Regions from separate parts of the Homo sapiens genome. Here all the other regions are linked to region 1. Evidence: promoter capture Hi-C in human tissues and cell types (Jung and others, 2019). All regions are on one chromosome and are shown on one strand. Each heading gives the region's core, a stretch centred on a gene start or on the middle of the fragment in contact. The rest is flanking DNA. Distances are from core to core; before and after follow the strand shown. Region 1 holds the start of PDGFC (platelet derived growth factor C). Region 2 overlaps LOC105377509 (a long non-coding RNA gene). Region 3 has its middle 280 kb from the start of LINC02272.

The links. Contacts are between HindIII fragments. The study calls those that stand out against the background at their distance.
Region 2: a contact is called between a fragment that was not itself captured here and the fragment with the promoter of PDGFC in region 1, in 1 of the 25 tissues and cell types used here (dorsolateral prefrontal cortex).
Region 3: a fragment that was not itself captured here is called in contact with the fragment with the promoter of PDGFC in region 1 in 1 of the 25 tissues and cell types used here (mesenchymal stem cells).

Annotation. Positions count from the first base shown.
Region 1 is chr4:156,969,548-156,974,177 of GRCh38, forward strand. It overlaps PDGFC (platelet derived growth factor C), which reads right to left and starts at 2,252. Exons shown (of 6, transcript NM_016205.3): 1 at 1,239-2,252. The coding sequence starts at 1,356. RefSeq lists an enhancer at 2,039-2,539. The HindIII fragment of the contact is 11,394 bases long and covers 1-4,630 here.
Region 2 is chr4:157,963,229-157,967,858 of GRCh38, forward strand. All of the region lies in intron 2 of LOC105377509 (a long non-coding RNA gene), which reads right to left. Among named protein-coding and RNA genes, the nearest start is that of GASK1B-AS1, 210 kb to the right of the region's middle. The HindIII fragment of the contact is 3,557 bases long and covers 660-4,216 here.
Region 3 is chr4:156,357,516-156,362,145 of GRCh38, forward strand. No RefSeq gene overlaps it. Among named protein-coding and RNA genes, the nearest start is that of LINC02272, 280 kb to the right of the region's middle. The HindIII fragment of the contact is 6,574 bases long and covers 1-4,630 here.

The DNA.
Region 1 (4,630 bases), core at 1,002-3,501:
CTGTGCTTTCTTAAACATGAACACTTCATAGAGTTTAAATTCAAAGTTGAAGTCTTGAAACACCCCAATATGAAAAGGAAAAAAAATCACTCTGACTTAAAACTATAGCACATCCTATCTTAATTTTGTAGGTATGCCACTTGTGTTCATTTTGCATGGTTAATCAAGTGACAGAATCCTTGCATTCTGAATAGATGATATACAAAGCAGTAAAAACATGTATATTCCTTTTCAAATTACAGTAAGAGCCACCATTTGTAAACAGGGCGTTAAATATTCCAATTTTAGACAGCCTAACATGAACATTGTGGTTTCATGTGCAGTATAAAATTTCTATTTACAAAGTATTCTCAAAAATGACTTCATAATGGTAGATGAAGAGAAAAAGAGTTTAGAAATTGAATGATGTAAATCATATGGGTTCAGAGGCTAAGCAAATTACACACCCTGAAGCTGCCCTGGCTTTATGAAAGGAGCCTTTCTCCAGCTCTGTGCAATCCCAGCCCAAGGGAACTTGCATCTGAGAGTTTTCTAAACATTTCAGGTACACTTGAAAGCTGAAAGTAATTCTCATTTCCTATGCAGGATTAAGTCGTTTCCAGCACACACAAAATAGCAGTCATTCACCAACACATACAAAAACACACCACCAGAAAGGTAAGGACTTCAGAGTACAAAGGCAAGTTTAAAAAACAAAAACTAGGGAGCAAGAGAAATACACTTTTTAATTCCTCTAAAAACGACCACACAGCCTCTTGACCTCTATATTTCCTATCTACTCATTGATTAATTGATGACTTCGACCTAGAGTGCTTCAATTAATGCGGCTGATATATTTCCTGACCGACCCCCCTCGCCCTCCCCAAATCTGAGTAAAGTCAAACATGCCAAGGCTCATTCATTTTGGATTCGTTTTTAGAGGCAGTTCTTGAACTTCTAACTTTAGCAATGAGCGAACCTGCAATGTGCATTTGAAATGACGTTCACAATCGCTCCCAGAATGTCCTCACTCAGCAGTGGCACTCACGTTGCCCTCTTGGAGCTTTGTGGCAGCTCCCGAAGTTGCAAACTACACTTAACCTTTAACAGTCCATGCCAATGAACGCAGCGCACATTTGCATGTAATGAGAGACCAAAGATACCTTCACAGTCTGGTATATATCACATACCAACGCACAATGCCAACGTTAACACACACAGCGAGAAACAAGCAGGGGGAGAATGGGGGAAAGACTCACCGTTCTGTTCCTTGTTGCTGGAAAACTGGAATTTACTACTCAGGTTGGATTCCGCCTGAGTCCCCTGTCTCTGGCCGGCCAGGGCAGATGTCAGCAGGAGAAGCCCGAAGAGGCTCATTTGGCTGACTGGGGTGAGAGCTCACTCACGGCGGGCACTTTGGAAGCAGCGACTCCCGAGTCTCTTTCACCACCGCCAGGGGAAGGCTGCACTGGGGTGGAAGCGCCGAGCCTGCTCTGGCAGCAGAGAATCGCAGGGTAGTTTCCACATAATCCCATCCAAAACTTTTTCCTAGAGCCCTCTTCTGTGTCTCCAGTTTTTGAAAAGGATCAAAGCAAAACCTGGACCTGAACCAGTTTCCCAAGGTTTAAACAAATCCTGAGCTGTGGCGAAGTGGTGGGGGTGGGGGTGAAGGCGAGGGAGGAATGAGGGGGTGGGGACGCGGGGGAGCGGCGAGAAGTCCCCAGCAAGTTGCTGGGAGCACCTGTCAGTTCGGGGGACAGGACAGAGGCGAAAACTCAAGGGTTGCCCGCAGCCAGACTGGAAGCCAAGTCGGCGGCGAGCAGTTTCTGATCAATAACAAAGCTGCCAATAGATGCGGCTCTCCGGGCGCCCCTCTCCCCCGCCCCACCCCCCACCCCCGAAGGGGGAGGGGGAAGAAACAAGGCGAGGGCGCCGCGGCGGGTCCCACGGGCCGGGGCGCCGGAGCGGGGCCGGGGGGCTCCGGGCCGACGGCGGCCCGGGCGCAGGCGGAGAGAGGCCGCGGGGCTCCCGCTCCTCAGCCCGGAGCGCAGTTGGCCCCGGGTTCGGAGCGCCGCAGCACGGATTCCGGCACCTGGCTTGAGTTTTCCGCGACCAAAGTTCACCTTGTTCGGGCTCGTCCCCCGCTCCTCAAAGCCTGGGGCAATTCGGCCGCTCGGGGTCACCGCGGGGCTCCGGTTGTTCCCCGTCCCCTCCCCCCACGCCTCGGGCTCCGCGCTAACCTCGGGGCTACGCGCGGCGTCTCCGCACGGGGTGAAGAGGGAAGGCCGGGGCGGCCGGGAGGATCCGGCTTGTCCCCTCCCCTTCTCTACCTTCCCCCCGCCGGGCGGCAGACAGGAGGTGGGGGCCGTGGGCCGAGCCCGGGCGGAGCGCGCGCCTGGCGAGCGGGGGCGGCTCAGCGGCTCTCCCGCAGGCGGCCGATGGGGCGGGCGGGGGTCAGCGCCTCTGGGAGGGGCAGCCCTGGGACGCGTCCGCGCGAGCGGGCTTGGCCGCCCACTGGCTGTCAACAGGTGCTGCGCAGACAGGGGGTGCTGCGGGACTCGCTGTGGGCAAGACCCCGGTGGCCCAGGAGAGGAACGCGGCCAAGGCGGCCCCTGCTTTCCCTTCCACGGAACACCTCTAACCCCAAATACAGAGCACGATGGGTGGTGAAGGGTGCTGCAGAAGTAAGTGGGAAAGAACTTCCTGCAGCTCTCCTTCTCCCGCCCCCTGTCGCCTGACTTGTCATTAGTTTCCAGGAGGGCTCCCCACTCCCTAAGGTCTTTGCTAGGACCCTTGGCCAGAGTTTCAGAACAGAAGGAAGAAGGGAAATGAATTCAAAGGCTTTCCTCCAATTTCCAGCTCCGTAAAGCAGGACAAATAAAGCAAAAGTAAAGGCAGCCAAAATAACATCCATTTAACAAGTACTATATTTACTGAATGCCTACTATGTCGGGCACTGTTTAGAGGTTGGAGCCGTAGCAGTGAAAACAGACAAAAGTCCCTGCCCTCGTGAAGCATACGTAGTAGTTGGGCAGCATTAAGCTAATAGCAAGCTCTTCTGAGAATGGTGTCTAAGGGACTCAGAATGATCCTGCAACCTTGGACTTTCCTACAATACAGCCTCTAACAAAACTAGGCTGCCCTGAACCCCTGGTGATAGAATTGTTTACATTTACACCAAAAAGGTCGAGAAAGAACTGAAATCTCTTGTGGCTTGTGTTCAGGCTGACTTGGAGAGAGAGGCCGATGCTTTAAGACCTAAAGTTCTCATGAGGTAGTCTGAAATGAAACACACATGCCAAGCAGGGCTTATGGTGGTTCCATGTCTGCTAAATATGTCTGTGACAGGATCCAACGTGCTTTCTTTGTGGAGAAGCAGAAAATCATTGTCAATGTGTTAAAGGCACAAGCAGAGAGTCAGAAAAGTTGAATTTTAAAATGAAGCTATTTTTGAGTAATAATCAAAATGAAAACAAGGAAGTGCCATGGCAGGCAAATCAGCAATATCACCCAACTTCTTGTGGAAAAAAAGTCAATGCAAACAATTCGACCATCAAGAACACTTGGGCTGGAACAGAAAACCAAAATAGCAATGTCCCTGAAACTAAGGAGTGGCATTTGGGCAAGAACATATTCTTACTGGACCAAACCAGGGGCTGATCCTTCTTCAGTGGTGAGGAAAATGCCAAGCCCTCTTCTTATATGCGAACACCAACTGGGGCCAACCAACCAGACCTTTCTGCTTGGAATATCCTAGTCTTCTTGTTTTTCCCTTTTAGAAACCTTTGAAAACTTCACCCATCTGTCTCATTCTTGAAAATTTCACCCGCCTGTCTCATTCATTCATTCTTATCCCTTTACCACTTCTATCTACAGAGTACTAAATATACACTAAAGGCAAATAAGGCCTGATCTTTGACTTTAAGGCATTTACAGTTTAGTGGACAGAAGGTTTTTTATCAAGTATGGTATTTTATTCGAGTTAGCAGCTCCACAACACCAGTGTGACTCCATATTTGCATAATGTGTTCCAAAAATATTTTGTAAATTTGTGAGGGTGAAGGGTTATTCCCAATTTTAATAACATAATGGGACTTAAATAAAGGGCATGCCTTATGAATCCATTGTAATCTATTTTTCATAAAATTCATTATTCTCCAGTTTTTCTAATTTTGTAAGTTTAGTTTTCTAATCAGCACTTTTCTAAATGAAATTGTTATATGTCCATATAGTTGAGTTTCCTGACCACCCACATAGAGGTGGGGTGTGTGTGTGTGTGTGTGTGTGTGTGTGTGTGTGTGTGTCTGCAAATGTAATCCATTTGCTCTCAGGAGATTGGAAGGGTGATGACTACTCTTTATTTTGTATCATTTCATATTGGCTAGAATATTGCTTGGCACAGGGGGATAATAAATAAACACTCTTGACTGACTGACAGGTTTCTTTATTGGAGTCACTTACATTCTCCCTGGAATTTCAGTGCGATAGTTGTATTTGAAAAGTTACAGATGATCTAGAATAATACTCTACCTCTGCGTTTCACCTCATCCATATTCTACAGATTGATTTGACAATCGCCTTATAAATAAAGTCAGCCAGGTGTTCCTGAATGACCCCTAGACAAAATCACATCCACATTGGCCAATTTCCT
Region 2 (4,630 bases), core at 1,188-3,687, 990 kb after region 1:
GACATACATGCGGCCAACAAGCAAATAAAAACAACCTCAATGACCACTAGAGAAATGCAAATCAAAACCATAATGAGATATCACCTCACACCAATCAGAATGGCTATTATTAAAAAGTCAAAAAATAACACACGCTGGCAAGGTTGTGGAGAAAAAGGAATGCTTATACACTGTTGGTGGGAGTGTAAATTAGTTCAACCAATGTGGAAAGCAGTATGGCAATTCCTCAAAGAACTAAAAGCAGAGCTACCATTCGACCCAGCCATCCCATTACTGGATATATACCCAGAGTAACAGAAATCATCCTATCATAAAGACACATGTACGCGAATGTTCATTGCAGCACTATTCATGATAGCAAAGACATGGAGTCAACCTAAATGCCCATCAATGACAGATTGGGTAAAGAAAATGTGATACATATACACCATGGATTATTATGCAGCTATAAAAAAGAACAAGATCATGTCTTTTGTGGGAAAATGGATGGAGCTGGATGCCATTATCCTTAGCAAACTAACACAGGAACTGAAATCAAAATACTGCATGTTCTCAGTTATGAGTGGGAGCTAAATGATCAGAACTCATTAATACAAAAAACAGAACAACAGACAGTGGGGTCTACATGAGGGTGAAGGGTAGGATGGGGAAAAAGAGCAGAAAAGATAAATATTGGGTACCAGGCTTAATACCGGAGTGATAAAATAATCTGTACAACCAATGCCTGCGAAGCAAGTTCACCTATGTAACACAGCTTCAGATGTACCCCCAAACCTAAAATAAAAGTTTTAAATGAATAAATAAAAAATAAAAATAAACAAGTTAGAAGTTTAGTTTCCCTCTGGATTTTCACAGTTTCAGGGCAAGCAAAACAGCCTGCAATGCCCTTTGTAGTCCTACAAAGCTGACAAAGGAGTTCTGAAAAGTCTTCAGACACTGGGACTTGTTACACTTTTCTCTTCTGTTATTTTAGGATACAGCCCTCACAATCATACTCCAAGATGATAATCCAGCCATCACATCTATGTTCCAAACCACAGGATGGAAAAGACAAAGACCAAAGGGCAAATATGTGCACCAGCTGTTTCTGAGGGGATACTTCTAGAAACTGCACAGATCACTTCCATTTATACCCTATTGGCTAGAACCCAATCACCAGCCCTCACCTAGTAGTAAGGGAGAAGGGAAAATACAGTTTTTGTTTTGAAGGCTGCATCCCTTGATAAAATTTCTATTTCTAAGGAGGAGGCAAGAGATACTGAAGAACAACTAGGTTAGAATGACTTTTCCCATATTTCCAAGTAAGGGTTTTGCCCGTTTGATAAGACCATGATTTCCTCGCTCTAAAAATGCAGTCTCATGCAGAAATGAGAGCATCAGATTGCTGAGCTGGATAAAGAAGTTGCACAAGAAAATTTAATAAAAAAAAAAAAGATAAAATTAGCCTGACATCCTGTTTTAAACCAAAGCAGCTTAACTGGCATTTTTTGCCTGAGGGGAAGTTGGACTACAGTCAATACTGAATTACCTTTGATCTATGGAAAACTTGGCCTTCACTCAAGGCACAGATTTGACAGCTTTTAACCTAAGTTTTGAAACCACACTCCAATATTCTATATGCAAGAGTCTTCCCCATTGGCAAATACCTTCCTTAGAGAACAGCATTAAGGTGAGCATGACAAGAGGATTTTCAAGTGCAGAGATTTGGAGGGCTGAAGCCTTGGATGTCATTCATTGATGCATTACTAAGGTTAAGGCCTAATGAGCAGACAACTGTTGAGCAATTAAATCAGCTATTTTTAGATTGTGCTACATATATCAAAGGCTGAAGTCTATCTAAGCTTTGGGATAATTATCAAAACCCATTCAACAGCTTCTCTTTCTTCCTGATAGCTACCAGGCCTTTATCGCTGATTTACACTGTCATATGCAGTTTTAAAACACCAGGGAAAATTTCCTTCCTTTTATGCAGCATATAATTTCCCACTATTCAACCCTAAGTCTGTATTCAGTTTATGGTGTTATTTCAATAAAGCTCACCAATGACTTCTATATGGTGTTCATATTCAGCAACAAGTAGCTTTAATACTTGATGACATCTCGGTAGAGACGGGGAGAAACTGTATATTTATAGTACCTTTCCTCTCGCCTTCACTTTCCGCTATGGTAACAAAGGCTGGGGTGGTTATTTTTCTCATTATTTTCCCACTGTGACTGTGAGCAAAGTATCAGACTCTGCAACTTGAATTCAAAGACATTAAACTACTTCCTAAGTATACCCAAAGAATGTCTAATAAAAACCAAAAGCTCCACGAATCTGGTGAGGACTGTCTAACAACACACAATCTGATGAAACTCAAAAGGGCAAATATTCAGAAAACAGAGTGGATTCTAAGTACAAACAAGCAAATGAAGTATTTTCTTGAATGATTGGAAACCATATCTATGACTTATCTCCAAGACTGGTTGGCAAAGTAAAAGAATTTTACCTACTCAAAAGCAAAATACAAATCAAAAGGTAAAAAAATCCATAAAATAGGAAAAATAACATAGACATGGTACCCAACATTACTGAAATCAAGTATACAGTTTCACCAGCACTAACAAAACAATTCGCATCAAGAAGGGTGGGATTTGTTAGAAACATGATAAAACTTCCTACTTGTTGATATTTTACTTGGTCCCAGATGAAACATTTATTTTCCTTTAAAGTCATGTATGCTATCTATAATCTCAGGATGCTATTGAAGTATTTATTAATAATTCAATACACTCCAGCATAAACCCTGATATACCTTACTCTTTCCTGTTTGTTCCCCTTCTTCCCACTGTAGTATCATGTATCTTTTTACAGTATTCCCAAATATATATCATTTCTCCCTTTACCTACAAGACTTAAAAGGTATATAATGGTGACTACAATATTGCATTTCTTTTAATTGTTGCTTAACTAGATTTTACATATGAAATTATGTGCTTTTTCTCATGAATCAATACTTTTTGCCTGTTGATGAAATCAACAGCAGTGTTAAATTATTAAAATATATTGAGGCAAACTTGAAGTTGCATAATTTAACACTATTTCCATAAGAAGCCAATATGGGCTACTGCATCATGCTTTTCAGGGACCTGAGTTTTACAGTAGTGACTGCCTGAAAACATTACGCCAGGTTAATAATGTTCAGGGCTTTTTCCTGAGGCAATTTAAAATGAGAACATTTATTTTTATTCTCCCCAATGGAGCCAGAATTACATTAGGCATACAGCTGTAACTTTTTATTCTCTTTTATCCTGACAGGTGGGGTGACAGTGGCTACTTTCCTCCCAAGTAAATCACATTTGACTATAAACTAATGAGGTGATGAAGGCTTTCTCATCAACACCTTTCTGTTACGTAGCATCAACTTGGCGTGTCCTGATGAGCAAAAGTTAGATGGGGGAGAAAAATACACCTTGAGGAACAACCAAACAAAATATAATTTCCAATCTACACAGCCTCCTTGAAATAACAAAAGTAGTCAAATTTTCTTTCCAAAATTAAAAAAGAAGCAAAAAAGTATATAACTTCTCTAAGAAAGAAAGGCATTTCAAATACCTTATTCAACTTTTACTTTCATTACTTATTTATTTCATTTTTAAATAGATGATGATAAAGAAGTATGCCTACTTTGAAGGACTGCTGTGAGAATCAAGTAAGATCATACATTAAAGTTCTTTATGAAAGTTAAAGTACTATGTACACATTAAATTAATATTATTTCATTAAGAATATGATAGCAAGACCTGGCTCAGTGGCTCATGCCTGTAATCCCAGCACTTCAGGAGGCTGAGGTGGGCGGATAACAAGGTCAAGAGATGGAGACCATCCTGGCCAACATGGTGAAACCCTGTCTCTACTAAAAATACAAAAATTAGCTGGGCATGGTAGTGCGTGCCTGTAATCCCAGCTACTCGGGAAGCTGAGGCAGGAGAATAGCTTGAACCTAAGAGGTGGAGGCTGCAGTGAGCCAAGATCACGCCACTGAACTCCAGCCTGGTGACAGAGCGAGACTCCATCTCAAAAAAGAAAAAAGAAAAAGAATATGACAGCAGAAGCTTCTTCTTTTTGCCCACGCAATGAACACAGTAAGTAGTCAATGTATTTTTAAATAATTTGGTGGCAAAAGGGCCTAATTTCCATGCTTTGCTGAGTTTTCCTCTTCCTTGCTTCTGGAGGAGCACAACACCCTTTTAGTATTCATCATGAATGGCTAGAAATAATCCCACTTGTCTATCCCATTACACATAGTTTATATGGTTTCTTTTGTTTGTATTTAGGTTCCCAGGCCATGTAAAAGCTTCTCAAAATCAAGAAACATTATATATCATTTGTATATACAACTGTATATCATTGGACTGCATGGCATGCACAAAATCAATTCTCATTCTGTCAATAAAAGCGGCTACACAACATATTTCTTTAACCATATATCTTTATTTCAGAATCCAAACAGTGTAGCAAAAATATAACTAAGCTATAAAGGATCAGCCCCTTCTTCAGCCTTGATGTGCCATGTTCTTTCTACTTGTATACTCTTGATTCGTAGCACAATAGAATATATGTTGTTTTTAGGGTAGTAATGTCCTTCCC
Region 3 (4,630 bases), core at 1,445-3,944, 610 kb before region 1:
TATGTTCATCAGGGATATTGTCCTGTAGTTTTTTTTCTTCATTGTATTTTTGCCAGGTTTTGGGATCAGGGTGATGCTGGTTTTGTAGAATGAGTGAGTGAAGAGTTCCTTTTCCTCCATTTTTTGGAGTAGTTTCAGCAAAATTGGTACAATTTATTCTATGTACTTCTGGTAGAATTGAGCGGTGAAGCCATCTGGTCTGAGGCTTGCTAGAGACTTACTATATGGCCAAGCATGTGATCAATTTTGGAGTGTGTTCTGTGTGCAAATGAGAGAAATGTATATGTGTGGTTGATGCAGAGAGTATTTTGTAGATGTCTATTAGGTACAATTGGTCAAGCATCAAGTTTAAATCCAGAATTTCTTTGTTAGTTTTCTACCTTAATGATCTGTCTAATGCTGACAGTGAGGTGTTGAAGTCTCTTACTATTATTGCATGGCTGTTTAAGCTTTTTCATAGGTCTAGCAATACTTGTTTTATGAATATACATGTTCCAATGTTGGAGATATATATATATATATGATAAGTCTTCCTGTTGAATTGAACCCTTTATCGTTATGTAATCCCTTTCTTTGTCTTTTTTTATTATTGTCAGTTTAAAGTCTATTTTATCTGTCACAAGAATTGTGATCCCTGCTGTTTTTTGTTTTCTGCTTGCATGGTAACTCTTTCTCCAACCCTTACTTTGTGCTTAGTGGTGTTGTTCTATGTGAGATGAGTCTCCTGAAGACAGCAGGTGGATAGGTCTCTTTTTTTAAAACCAATTTGCTATTCTGTGTCCCTAAAGTGGGGAATGTAGACCATTTACATTCCACATTAATATTGATATGTGAGATTCTGATCCTATCATGATGTTGTTAGCTAGTTGCTTTGTAGTTTCTATTGTGTAGTTACTTTACAGGGTCTGTAGGCTATGTACTTAAGTGTGTTTTTTTTTTTTTTTTGGTAGTAGGTATCATTCTTTAGTTTCCATGTTTAGTTCTCTTGTATCTCTTGTAAGGCTAGTCTAGTGGTAATGAATTATCTTCATGCTTGCTTGTCTGGAAACTATTTCTTCTTTGCTTTATGAAACTTAGTTTGGTGGGATATTAATTTCTTGGTTGAAATTTCTTTTCTTGAAGAATGCTGAAAATATGCCCACAATCACTCCAGGCTTACAAAGTTTTTGCTGAGAAATCCACTGTTAGCCTGATGGGGTTCCCTCTGTGTATGATCCGACATTTTTATCTAACTGCCTTTAAGATGTTTTCTTTAACATTAAGTAAATGAGTAATAGAGTAATCAGAAGAAAAATAATTTTACTGAGAATAAATTTATCACTATATAATAGATACAACTGAGAAGTCTGTATTATCAATTATTAATATGAAAAGGTTCATAACATTCTGAGATGATTGACAGAAAAGAAAACAAAATGAAGAAAGTGATCAGTCCTTCAAATGGTATGGTAAATAGGACTTAAAGCTACATATGTGGAGGAATTTGAACCCATTGGACTAAATTATAAAATGATCAGACAAACAGTATGATCCACTCTTTACAATGATATATGTTTTTCCATTATAACTTACAGAACTAATAGTTGAATGAAATAAAAATGTATGTAACTGGGAAAAAGAGAATGGACAGAAATTGGAAAGAAAAAATATTTAAAGTGAGCTAATCTAGAAGGACTTAGTAAAATAAGCAAAATAAATCATGTAGTGGCTGTTGAGTTTATATACTTTCAAGATTTCGTTCTTCAATAGTTGAATAATTATGACAAATTCCTAATATATCTTAAATCTTGAAAATTATGGAAGACAAAAGAATGCTTAGATTTTAAAATTCAGTTTTTTGGTTTTTTTTTTTTTTTTTTTTGAGACGGTGTCTCACTCTGACATCCAGGCTGGAGTGAAGTGGCACAATCTAGGCTCACTGCAACCTCCACCTCCCGGGTTCAAGTGATTCTCCTGCCTCAGCCTCCCAAGTGGCTGGGATTACAGGTGCCTGCCACCACGCCCAGCCAATTTTTTGTATTTTTAGTAGAGACAGGGTTTCATCATGTTGGCCAGGCTGGTCTTCAACTCCTGACCTCTGGTGATCCACCCACCTTCGCCTTCCAAAGTGCTGGGATTATAGGGGTGAGCCACTGTGCCTAGCCAAAATTCAGTTTTTATATATAATTAAGAGATGAGTTTTAGGATTTTTCCCTTTTCTTCAAGGCTCAAATAATGTTTGAAATTGTAAGAATGATGCATTTAGAATTTTCAATATTGCAATGGTAATATGAAATCAAGCAAATGTAATAAAAAAGATAACTTGGATTAACGGTAAGATAAAAAATTATCATTACTAAAAGACCATCTACTTCTTACAGAATTTAAAATATCTACTTAAACATAATTATATGTTTGGAAAAAATTTAGTTGAGCCAATAAATCTATCTATATCTATAAAATGTGGACAAGATGGATAAATCATTGATATTGAAATAGGTTCACTAATTCTCTTTTCCCATAATATGTTTATATTTCTCTGATAATAAGTTATAAGATTTCTATGAGTATTGAAGTAGTTTAAGTCTATTGTTTTATATATTCAAAATCAGATTCTGCTCTTAAAAAGTCCATTTAAAATATGTAAAGCAATAAGTAACTTCAGTTGCTAAATTGGTTCAATTGCTCAGCTGCTGTGGGGAGAGGCACTATAGCTTATAAAATTGTGGTTTCTCACTTACAAAACATCTAATCAATGTGCATATTTTACTCCTAGCTATAAAAAACCCAATATGTCCATAATTGTAATAAATTTAAAATACTGCAAAGTATTAAAGAGAATATTAAAATTATTTTCTAACTCTTAAGTATTGGTACATTTTCTTCTAGTTTGTTCTTTGTGCGTAATTCATATGATTTGCATGAGTTACCACCATTAATTTTCAAATAATCAGCAACTGGAAAAGCAACAAGGGGTAAAATATTACATTTCTACTCTACTATTCTGTTCTACAAACGAGCCCTCTGCTTTTGGGACTTCACATCTTTCTTCACCTTATACATGTAGAGGCTTCATCACTTTATATGACTTAAAACAACTATGTGTCCTAAGAGCAGGAGCCAATACCCTGGCTGCCAAAGGCCACCTTGCTATGTTAACAGGAAAATATTATCTATCTAGGATACATACATCTAAATATGTTGACATATAAATTTAATCTATATGAATAGTAAGTTGGGCAAGATGCTGGTTAGTTTTAATCAAGTATTTTCTTTGAGTAAAATATTGGATTGAGTTAATGAGCTAAAATTCAACCCATCATGAGAAACTCTGGAGAAAATATTTGTCATTGTATCCTAATCATATTTATGAATTGTTTAAAGAATGGAAGGAGATGAAGGAAACCAGAAATATTAGCCAGGAGATATTTACAATAATTCAGGTGACTTTCAGGACCAAGATATTCCCATTGTTTTTGAAAAAGACATGAGAAAAATGTTGCAAAGAAAAAACTGATGGAACTTGTTTAATGCTTTTATACAAGTAATGGGCCTTAGGTGATAGATTAAGTCCCAGTTTAAACAGTGTCAAATGCCTCTAGAGACTGATGGGTATTCAGAGAGAAAATAGGTCCTTGAATTTGGTGATTCTAAATCATATGTGTCTGATGTAAAAGCAGTTTTAACTTCAGTGAAAGCTGAAGAACAAAATATTGAGAGGAAACTGGATGAAACGAGTCAGAATGTTTGTAAATAATTGAATGTGAAAAGATAAAGGTGGGTAAGTCATATTTCAAGAAAAAAGGATGGAGGGATGATTGGGCTATGGGGCACTTGATTTCTCAATTTTGCATAGATCTCACTAAATAAGTATTGTTTATCATACTTTCCTAATGGTATTCAAAGCTAATATTTTTATGAGACAATAATTATAACTTCACATCATATGAGAAGAACCGATGTTTGCCTTCTGTTTTGTTTCTGTCCTTCAAATTACCTCTATATTTTGCCAATGTAGTAGATTTTCAGTAAGGGGTGAAACTACCTTGTTTCCTAGAGCTATTTGACCATCCAGGCAGTTGCCTGCCATTTTGTTATTGGGGGTGAGTGGAAAGCAGACAATTATAATAAAAAATAAATATGCACAGCCATGATGTATGTCATTCTATATTCAACTGTAATATTTTAAAACATGATCTTCTAAAGTCAAGAGAAAATGCTAGAAAAATGAAATAGGTTTATCCTTACCCATTGTTTACCCTTACCCATTTTTAGCAATGTTCAAACAGGTTGATTCTTAAACGGAGAGTCTTAAAAATAATAAGCTGGCATTTAGATTTCTGGTTGAGTGTGAGGCTTAAATTACTCTTAGCTTTATTTCTCAATATACTCTAAATGAATCGTTATATTATTTTTCATAAAAACTTTTTAAAAATAAAATTTTCTATGTACACATAGGTACTTATTAGTGTTAATTACAGAAAGAATAAAATTCAAATGAGACTCAAGAGTAGAGTGATTTTGAAACTGTAAGGCTAAGTATATGGCTAACATACTTGACCAAAATTTTAAAACAGCAGAATTATTAGCCCTCATAAGCTCTAATATTTTATTTAAAAGGTTAACATTTTCCATTTTAAGGTTTTTTCTT